Linked DNA regions of Homo sapiens: all the other regions are linked to region 2. The links are contacts of gene promoters, found by promoter capture Hi-C in blood cells and fetal thymus (Javierre and others, 2016). All regions are on one chromosome and are shown on one strand. The core of a region is centred on a gene start or on the middle of the fragment in contact, and the rest is flanking DNA. Distances in the headings are between cores, read along the strand shown. Region 1 holds the start of LANCL3 (LanC like family member 3). Region 2 holds the start of DYNLT3 (dynein light chain Tctex-type 3). Region 3 has its middle 67 kb from the start of LANCL3.

What was found. Contacts are between HindIII fragments. The CHiCAGO score rates a contact against its expected background, and 5 or more counts as called.
Region 1: the fragment with the promoter of LANCL3 here is called in contact with the fragment with the promoter of DYNLT3 in region 2 in 6 of 17 cell types (megakaryocytes, erythroblasts, M2 macrophages and 3 more); the score reaches 11.1 in megakaryocytes.
Region 3: a fragment that was not itself captured here is called in contact with the fragment with the promoter of DYNLT3 in region 2 in 3 of 17 cell types (M1 macrophages, total B cells and naive B cells); the score reaches 6.7 in M1 macrophages.

The regions. Positions count from the first base shown.
Region 1 is chrX:37,570,085-37,573,156 of GRCh38, reverse strand. It overlaps LANCL3 (LanC like family member 3), which reads right to left and starts at 1,496. Exons shown (of 5, transcript NM_001170331.2): 1 at 714-1,496. The coding sequence starts at 1,286. The HindIII fragment of the contact is 8,836 bases long and covers 1-3,072 here.
Region 2 is chrX:37,846,006-37,848,961 of GRCh38, reverse strand. It overlaps DYNLT3 (dynein light chain Tctex-type 3), which reads left to right and starts at 1,391. Exons shown (of 5, transcript NM_006520.3): 1 at 1,391-1,481; 2 at 2,604-2,645. The coding sequence starts at 1,452. RefSeq lists a silencer at 1,618-1,727. The HindIII fragment of the contact is 5,769 bases long and covers 1-2,676 here.
Region 3 is chrX:37,502,654-37,505,796 of GRCh38, reverse strand. It overlaps the pseudogene FTH1P27. Among named protein-coding and RNA genes, the nearest start is that of LANCL3, 67 kb to the left of the region's middle. The HindIII fragment of the contact is 154 bases long and covers 1,425-1,578 here.

The DNA.
Region 1 (3,072 bases), core at 247-2,746, 280 kb after region 2:
ACTGTAAAGTTATTCATCAAGAAAAGCTGCCCTGTCAAGAAAGCTGTGGTCTTGCCCATCCTAAGCAAATATTTTTAAGTGAAATAATGCACATTCAACCACAATGGGGTACATTTCCGGGTACGTTTCCGTCTACATTTATGTATTTTTAAAGGGGACACTCCTATCAGATATGCATTTAATAAGAGCCATGGGTTGAACTGAATAGTAAGCAAAACAGTAAACACATCAGACCCACAGCTGAGCAGTTATTCTTGGTTACAGACCCAGGGCTCCAGAAGCAACTTACCTCCACATCGGCCCCGAAAAGTTCCATTACTTTCTAGCACTCTAACATTCGAGGATGCCTCAGCTTTTGACAGCAGAGTCAAAGGAAAGGAAATCCCTTCCATTTCTGAGGTTTTCATCTTACTTGAAAGGGCCACACTGTCATCCCCCAGAAAGCTAACAGGCATCTGGAGTGATGCCACGTAAAAACACGAACAAAGCGCAGAGACGCCGAATCTCAACAAATGAGAGACTGAAAACGACAGGAAAGAAGAGGGACAAAAGCAGGAGATAGACCTCAAGGGACTGAAGAAATGCTAGCACCACACCAAGAGTAACAAAGACTTGGAGAGCAACTCGGGACAGTGCTGCCCGAGCCACGGAGTCCGGGGAAAGGAGGCCGGGCAGGCGGCGAGCGCCCTCCCGCGGCCCGGGCTACCTCTTACCTCCTGGGCGAGTTTCTGCTTGAGCACCAGCGCGGCACACAGGTAACCCGCGCGGCCCACGAACAGCTCGTCGGAGCCGCACTCCAGGAAGGAGACCGGCGCGCAGACGGCACACAGAGCCCGGAACTTGCCCAGCGGCTGCACGTAGTCGGACCGGCCCAGGGCGTGGTATACGAGCGTGGCCACGGCGTACACGCCCGCGCCCCCGAGCAGGAAGGCGGCGCGGGTGTCGGCGTCCGGTTCGCCCCACTCCTCAGCGCGGGCGCACGCGTCGATGAGGCGCTTAGCCGAGCGCAGGTAGCGTTCCCGGGCCGTGGCGAAAAGCGGGCTCTGCGAGACGTGGTAGAGCATATACGCCACTCCGGCCACGCCGCCATAAAGCCCCCCCTGGCAGGCGCTAGCCCCCGCCGTCGCCCCTCGGGCCTCCGCGCCGCCCCCGAGTGGGGGAAGCTCCTGGAGGATGCGCTCGATGGTGGCGGTGACCAAGGGCGCCACCGCCTCCTCACACTGGCCCGCCAGCAGGCTGCCCTGGTAGTCATCGAAGCGATTGGCGAAGCAGCGCTTGGTGTCCATGCTGTTGCCCGTGCCCCCTAGTGCGGAGCTGAGGACCGCTTGAAGTCGTGCCCTGCAGCCCCGCACACCACCTCCGGCTCTCTGAGGCACTCGGATGCCGGTGTATGCGGCGGGGAAGGAGCGAGAAGGATGAGACGGGAGGTGACAAGAGGAGGCGGGCAAGGAGCGGATGGCCAAGTGGGGCGCCGGGCTGCCGCGAGGCTCCCGAGTGGCCCGGGCGATCGCGGGGGATGCGTGTCCTGCGCCCCCCCTCAGAGGCCGCGCCCTCGCTGAACCCGCCCCCTCCTGCGCCGCCGCAGCTTGGCTGCCTCTTCAAGGGGCCGAGGTGATCTCTGGCAGGACCCACGCGGGGCCCGCGCCACTCCTCCCGCTCCGCCCCCGACTCCTCCCCTACTGGCAGAAGGCCGAGGACGTGCGGGACACTGATCTGGAACGCTGGGACTCAGCATACACACACCTGGCGGTAGAGGTGATGGTCTCCAGTCCCTTGTATACTCAAAGTGTGGTCCTTGGGTTAGAAGCATCAGCATCACCCGGGGGCATGTTAAAAACGCAGCATCTCAGGCTTCACTCCAGACCTATTGACTCCAAATCTGAATATTCAGCAAGATTGCCAGGTGATTCGCATGCACATTAAAGTTTGAGGCGCCACTGAACTAGGCTAGAGTAGCAAGACAAAACTGGGCGCCTTCTTTGAAGTTTGTATTTCATCTTGGTCGCTTCGGAGTTCTCATTATGAATGTTTCAATCCCAAAGGCTGGGGCATTTGAGCACATCATGTTTAATGCATTAAAACGGTGAAATACCCCATACAGGAACTTTTTTCCCAGCTTTGATTTTTGTATTGTTTTCTTCGAGTATACAGGAGTAAAAAGTCAAAGAACCACACCAGGTTAAGGCAAGGAAGGGGCACGCCCCTCCTGCCATGCGTGCATAGTAAAAGCTCAATACATATCTTGAGGTCATTAACTAGTTAATATTAGGATAAACGCTCTGTGAGAATTTAATTAGGCTTTTTATCTCCCCCTTCCCTCCCTTCTTTTCCCATGTTTGTCCTCTTCTGCTTTTTTCCCAAGGGCGTTGTGGAGGGTCTCCTATGTGTCCTGAAACCTGGAAATAGAGGGATGAATAAGATAGACATGGTCCTAGACCCCTTGTAGCTTACAATTCAGTAGGAAAAAACAGAAAATGAACAATTACACAAGCTAGTTGCCTTTCTTGTGCTCAGCTGTTTGAAATAATTCTGCCTTTCCCAAAGTGTTGACTCTTGAAGACTAAAGAGGTCACGTCTCCCAGGAGTATTTGACTTTTGATAGGGACTGTGCAAGACATAAAGGAGTAAGTGGCTCATAGAACAGTTTCTGATACTTTGTGGGGAGAGTAACTACTCCACTTACTTGAAAGGCCAGTTTGGAGGCATTTTTTTTTCCTCAGAAGTGTTAAATGTCACCATGATTGGGAAGCAGATATTAAATACCCTGCCCCTCCACCCTTACTTGATGTAGTCTGGGAAAGAACCTTAGTTTGCCAACATGATTGCCAGGACTGACACATCCACATAGTTCAAGGACAGTATGGCCATCGTCCCCCTTTGATGCTGCCAAAACAGGTTTATTTTTAATAATAATAATAATGATAAAAGTCCACTTTTAGGCAGGGAGCTTGATATGTTAAAGGAGGAAAAGGCATCAAAGAAGCAACAGGAATGTTGAGTTTCTCCTTGAGACTTCCTTCCTCATCCCTCAACCATAACAGACATTAGAGGTGATTTTTGTCCCCTCAGACA
Region 2 (2,956 bases), core at 142-2,641:
TTTTTGCAACCAAAGAGCAAAAAGCAACCAATCAGACATTTGCACAGGAGTGGAACTTTGTAACTTCACTTCAGCCTCTGATTGGTTGCTGTCTGCAACCAATCAAACTGATTATGGGCCAAATCTTTGTTTGAATAGAAGTGCAACTTTGTAACTTCACTTTAGCCTCTGATGGTTGCTTTCTTGCAACCAATCAGACGTTTGCATAGGAGTGTGGCCTTTGTAACTTCAGCCTCTGATTGTGGGCCACTACTTCATTTACATGGGGTGCACACCAAGTGGCCAATGGGAAATCTCTAGGGGGTATTTGGACCAGAGAAGATTCTGGATCCCGGCCCTTGAGCGGCTTCTCTGCCCGCTCCCACCCTGTAGAGTGTACTTTCGTTTTCAATAAATCTCTGCTTTTGTTGCTTCATTCTTTCCTTGCTTTGTTTGTGCGTTTTGTCCAATTCTTTGTTCAAAGAGCCAAGAACCTGGACACCCTACACTGGTAACAGAACTGTAAGAGAACAGGACTGTGTTTCTTTAAGGCACTACATTTACGGTAATTTGTTACAGTAGCAATAGGAAAGTAATACAGTGGTTAAGAGCTTGGGCTCTGCTATCAGACTACTTGAGCTCAAGTCCCTTTTCTACACCCTACTGGCTGTATGACCTTGGGCAAATTAAATTCTCTATACCTCAGTTTCATCTTGATAAAAGCAGTGATGGAAGAACTAACTCCTCTGACTTATTGTGAGGTTTTGAGGAAGTGTCTAGGATCATCTGGAAATTAGTAATTTATTTTAAAATTACTAATTTAAAATTACTACATTTATTTTAAAATTACTAATTTAAAATTACTACATTTATTTTAAAATGTAGTCATTGTTCTCTTGTTGAGAAGCATCTACTTTAGGAGCCGTGTATACAGCTTCTCATCAGATCCTTACAACCAGTAGTGAAATAGGTATGATGGTAAGTTTCCATATGAGAAAACTGAAGCTGTGGGAGGTGAATTTTTCCAAGTAACATAGCTAGTAAGTGGACAAATCAAAGTGGCTGGTTTACCACGAAATTAACTACATTTATGTGCCACATGATGGTGAATGAACAAATACGTGCAAGTAATCACAGCAGTGGGCACTCAACCACTAGTGCGGAGTCTAGACTAACTGCCACTAGGTCACCCCATCTGATCCACACTGGCGCCATTCCCAGTTCTTTACATTCATCCCTTGTTTCCAGAAAGGGCAGAGGAAGCGAGGAAAAAGTGCGTGGCCTGAAGTGACGCCTGGCGTTGCCCGAAGCCCGCCCAGCGCTGCCAGGTGACGCCACTGCGACACAAAGGCGGGGATTGCGTAGGGAAAGGCCCTAGGCCATAAACGGGGGTGGGGCCTCCCCGGAGGCCAGTGCGCGGCCGCGGTGCTCTACCGGCGTGTCGCTCCGCCCCAGGGAGAGCCGGCGCTACCATGGAGGAGTACCATCGCCACTGCGACGAGGTACCGCCCCTTGGCTACCTGGGAGCGCCCCCCACTCCCGCCTTCCTCTGCGCGGGGCTCTTGCCGGGTGGTCTCCCAGCGAGGGCGGTCCCAAGAGTTGGGGTGCGGCGTCCTCCGAGCCCGGGTCCTCTCCCCTGGGCCCGGGATCCGCCCCGCCCGACCCGTTCTCCCCACCCCAAAGTCCTGAGATTCGGGGTGGGAGGGGTGGCCAGGAGCGCGCGGATCAGACGGTGGGGTCGGGGCAGGGTTGGGAGGACGAGGCCTGACTTGGGTGCGAGGAGTGGGCATGGGGTGACGGGCGCCGCCCTCCTACCGGGCGGGCCTCGAAAACGGGTCTTCCCGCTGCTGCCTCCGTCCCTTGGCTTCCTCAGCGCGGGTGCTGCAGCCCCCATGGCTCGGAGTCTCGGGGTCCTGGTGGCACTGCCATTCCCGCTCCCGGTAATGCTTGCCAGGATTAGGCAAGGAGGTGCTTTATGGATTACGAGCCCTTGCTTACTGACTCAGGCTTTCCCAACCCTCACCAGAAACCCATGATGTCAGTTGTTATCTCCCTGTTATTGATGGGGACTCCAAAGAAAAGACTAAGTTGTCAGACCACTTTATAGTACTAAAGTGATATTAATCTTGAGTTATCAAGTATTTTCATAATCTTTAATTTGGGAAAGGAATTTTTGCCTAGAAATTTTTGCCTAGCATAAGTTAAAAACAAAATTGAAAATAGTCTACTAAGCATTCTCTTCATATGGACCACTTCATTCTCTCACTTAGCTGAAACCATTTCTATATTCTTATGACACATAACATCCTCATAGTCACCTCTTGCTTATTTCCTACGTTTTACAATACAATGATTCTTAATCTAGGATGTTCATTAGAATCACCAGTATAAAGCACTTTTTTAAAAAAAAATGTAGACTTGCAGGCTCTGCCCCAGACCTCACGGGAGGTAGGTAGGGAAAGCATTCAGTATTTTTAAGTGTTTAGGGGCAAGATTGGCCCCTTCTGTAGACCTGATGCCCTTTAACACTTTAACACCTGTCTAGGCCAGCCTAGGATATTCTGTGTAGCGTCATACTTGTAAGCCTGTGTTGAAAGCAGCTTTACCTTTTGTTTTCCCTTTAGGTTGGCTTCAATGCTGAGGAAGCCCACAATATTGTCAAAGAGGTGAGTCATACATTTTGTTTCTCTTGAAGCTTGCTGCACTGGTGGAGATTTTTAAAAGCTATATTTTGAGTTTCAGCACAAACTTAGAAACCTTACTGTTAAAAGAAGAATATTTTGTTTTGTTTTATTTTATTTTATTGTTTTTTGAGATGGAGTCTCGCTCTGTCACCCATGCTGGAGAACAGTGGTGTGATCTCAGCTCACTGCAACCTCCACCTCCTGGGTTCAAGCAATTCTCCTGTCTCAGCCTCCCGAGTAGCTGGGTCTACAGGCGCCCGCCACCACACCCATCCAATTTTTGTATTTTTAGT
Region 3 (3,143 bases), core at 252-2,751, 340 kb after region 2:
GCCCCCATCTTGCACAGGTTGCTCAGGTAGCCACCAATCTCTTTGATGGTCTTGGCCTGCTGGTTCAGGAAGTGGTTCTCCAGGAAGTCACAGAGGTGGGGTCGTCGTTCTCCTTGGCCAGCTGGTGCAGCTCCAGGAGGCTCTGGTTGACGTTCTTCTCCAGGTAGAAGGCGCAGTCCATGGCCTGGAGCCCGCTCTCCCAGCCTTGGCACTCTGGCTTCCTGATGTCGCGAAGGTAGATGCGGCCACCGCGCAGGTTCTGCAGGCTCATCAGCTCCTGGGCGTGCTCCCTCTTCTCGTGCCACTGGTGCAAGAAATAGCGGCTGAAGCTCTCCAGGGCCACGTCGTCCCGGTCGAAGAAGAAGGCCATGGACAGGTACACATAGGAGGCGTGGAGCTCCAGGGTGACCTTGATGTTGATGGCGACCTCGCAGCTGAGATGGTTGTTCTGGTGCACCTGCGACAGCGGGCCCAGGGCGGGCAGTGCGGGCGCGAGGAGCAGGCAGGGTAAAGCGGTGTGGTCGCTAGGGTCCCGAAGCGGGCGGCGGCATCGGCATCGGCAGTGGCGGCCGCGGCGGGTGCCTCTGAGCACAACATGGTGGACGACGGAGGCGACCAGTGGAGGGCAGGGTCCTCGGGACCAGGCGGTGGTGGTTGCCACAGGGTCTGCGAAGGGACCGGAAGTGGGCTGTGGGGACCCGTATGGGTGGAGGGGCGCGCGCCGTCGGGTGGATGGTGGTGGTGGCGAGGGGGGGCACACTGAGTTCCGTGGGCAGCCCAGGGAACTAGGCACTGTCAGTCCACTGCGTGATGTCAATTCTGCAGTAACTTTTCTAGTGTCCAAGGACTTTTTCGTCTGCCCCCTGATTATTCCCCTCTATGACAGCTTGTTCTCATTTTATAAACCTCTTGTCTTTCTTAAACTCTGAGAGTATGTTCTGGTAACGTTTTTTTCTGTTTCCTGTATTATATCCTCTTTTTCCCTCCTCCAGAATTAGTTCTATTTGTGCATCTTCCTCACTTTCCTTAAATATCTGGAAAACGTTTGTCCATTCATGATTGGAATCAAGGACTGGGTTAGCCTCGGTGATGAGCATGGATCGAATGCACAGCTGTGAGTCTGGGTGACCAATAGGATTCTCCCATGAACAGGAGGGTGGAGTGTGTCAATTAGGGAGTGCTCATCTCCTTTGGAGATAAAGGTATAGAGCTCCCAGGCAGAGTAGGAACTATTCTAAATGCCCAAAGCATGGCATTTCTCTGGCACTGGAATATGTTAGTGGATCTGTCTTCTAGGTAGATGTCAGCTTCCCTTTAAATGCTCACCCATGTCTGCTGCACCCGGAAGCTTAATTCTTTCTGCAGGAGAGATGTCTCCACATGACAAGGAATGTGATTTCAGATATGTTTTCAGGATCAAAGCTTAAACACCAGAGTAAAGACTCTGTTTTTAAAATTTACCTGGAAAAGTCCTCTATGTTCACGGTTTTGGGGACTCAATAACTAATCCCCGTGTCTTCCCTGCTGAATTTGAAACCAATTAGTAGACATGGGACTCAGCTCACTGAAGAGCAAGCTTACGTCTGTAGCAAAATGAACTTGCTAGTACTTTTCAAATCTTCCAATTAGAGAAACTCGCTGTGGCAGAGTGACTTCATCAAAGCTTATTTGTTTTCATCTTGGTCCACAAGTAACCATATTTTTTTAGCTACCCTTGTGATTTGATGGGGTCTTGTACTGATTTCTGGCTATTGGAATATGAAAATAACTGGTGTATGGCCAAATAAGGCCTAGTTTATAGGACACACCGTGTGCAATCCATGTCTCAAGAAGAGGAACAGACCCTACAATATGACATATCCACTTTGGAGAAGGAGCCTGGAACTTTGAATAACATATGGACAATGTCCCCTCAAAAAAAAAAACACACACAAGAAGAAGAGGAAAAGAAAGAAAGAGTGTCTGTATTTTATTCTGAGTAAATGGTTTTTGTTGAGAGAATGCTTTATGTCAACTAGCAGTTATGTGAGACACAGCTTTAAAGAGCAAAGCACTGCATTCAGCAGAAGAGCACAAGTTATGCTTTCTTCCATTTTGATTAGAAAAATAAAATGGCAGAGTTACATACAAGACAACATGGAACTACTAAAGTACTTTTTCAAGTTGCTTTTATGTTTGATTTGTTAAGGAAAAACAAAAAGAACTTGAAGATTGCCTTTGTAAATATGAAGAAGGTGACTTGCGAAACTAATCTAGCCATAAATTGATCCCAGGAGTACTGGTTCTTCGGAGATTCCTATTGCTGTTCCAAGAGTACAAGTCCTGTATAAAGGAGTGCTTCCTAATGGTTATGGATTTGTGAAAAATGTACCATAAAAAGTTCAGCTCTTTATTTTTCATGAAATGGGTATCCTATGGCATACTTTCTAGAAATATCATGATTGGCAACACTATTTAGTCATTATACTTAAGTATTTGATACTTTTTTTTCTACATGAAGTTTATGGATATATTAAGTTTGAACCCTATGAAATTCCTAATTTGTCAGTTTATTTTTCAGCAGTAAAGTCCCTTTAGCATTTCCTGCAGAGCAAGTGTACTAGTGAGAATCACTGTTGAAATTTGTTTATCTTGGGATGACTTATTTTTTGATTTCTTTGAAGGATACATTGTGGAATGTAGAATTCTTCATCAGCAGTATTTTTCTTTCAGCACATTGAATATGTCATCTTCCTACCTCTAGGCCTCTGGTATAGTTTGAATATATGTCCCTGCAAAATCTCACTAACCTGTGCCCCAGTAACCTGTGCAGCCTCAGGACACTGCTCCCTGCATCCAGGCTGCTCCAGCTCCAGCCTCAGCTCAGATGACCCCAGACACAGCCCCAGATGCTACTTCAGAGGGTGCAAGTCAAAGCCTTGGTGACTTCCACGTGGCATTAAGCATGCAGGTGTGCAGAGTGCAAGACTGAAGGACGCTTGGCAGCCTCCACTTAGATTTCAGAGGATGAATGGAAAAGCCTGAGTGTCCAGGCAGAAGTCTGCTGCAGTGGCACGGCAGTGCGGAGGGGAGATGTGACATAGGAGCCCATGCACAGAGTTCCCACTGGGGCACCACCTAGTTGATCTATGGAAAGGGCACAC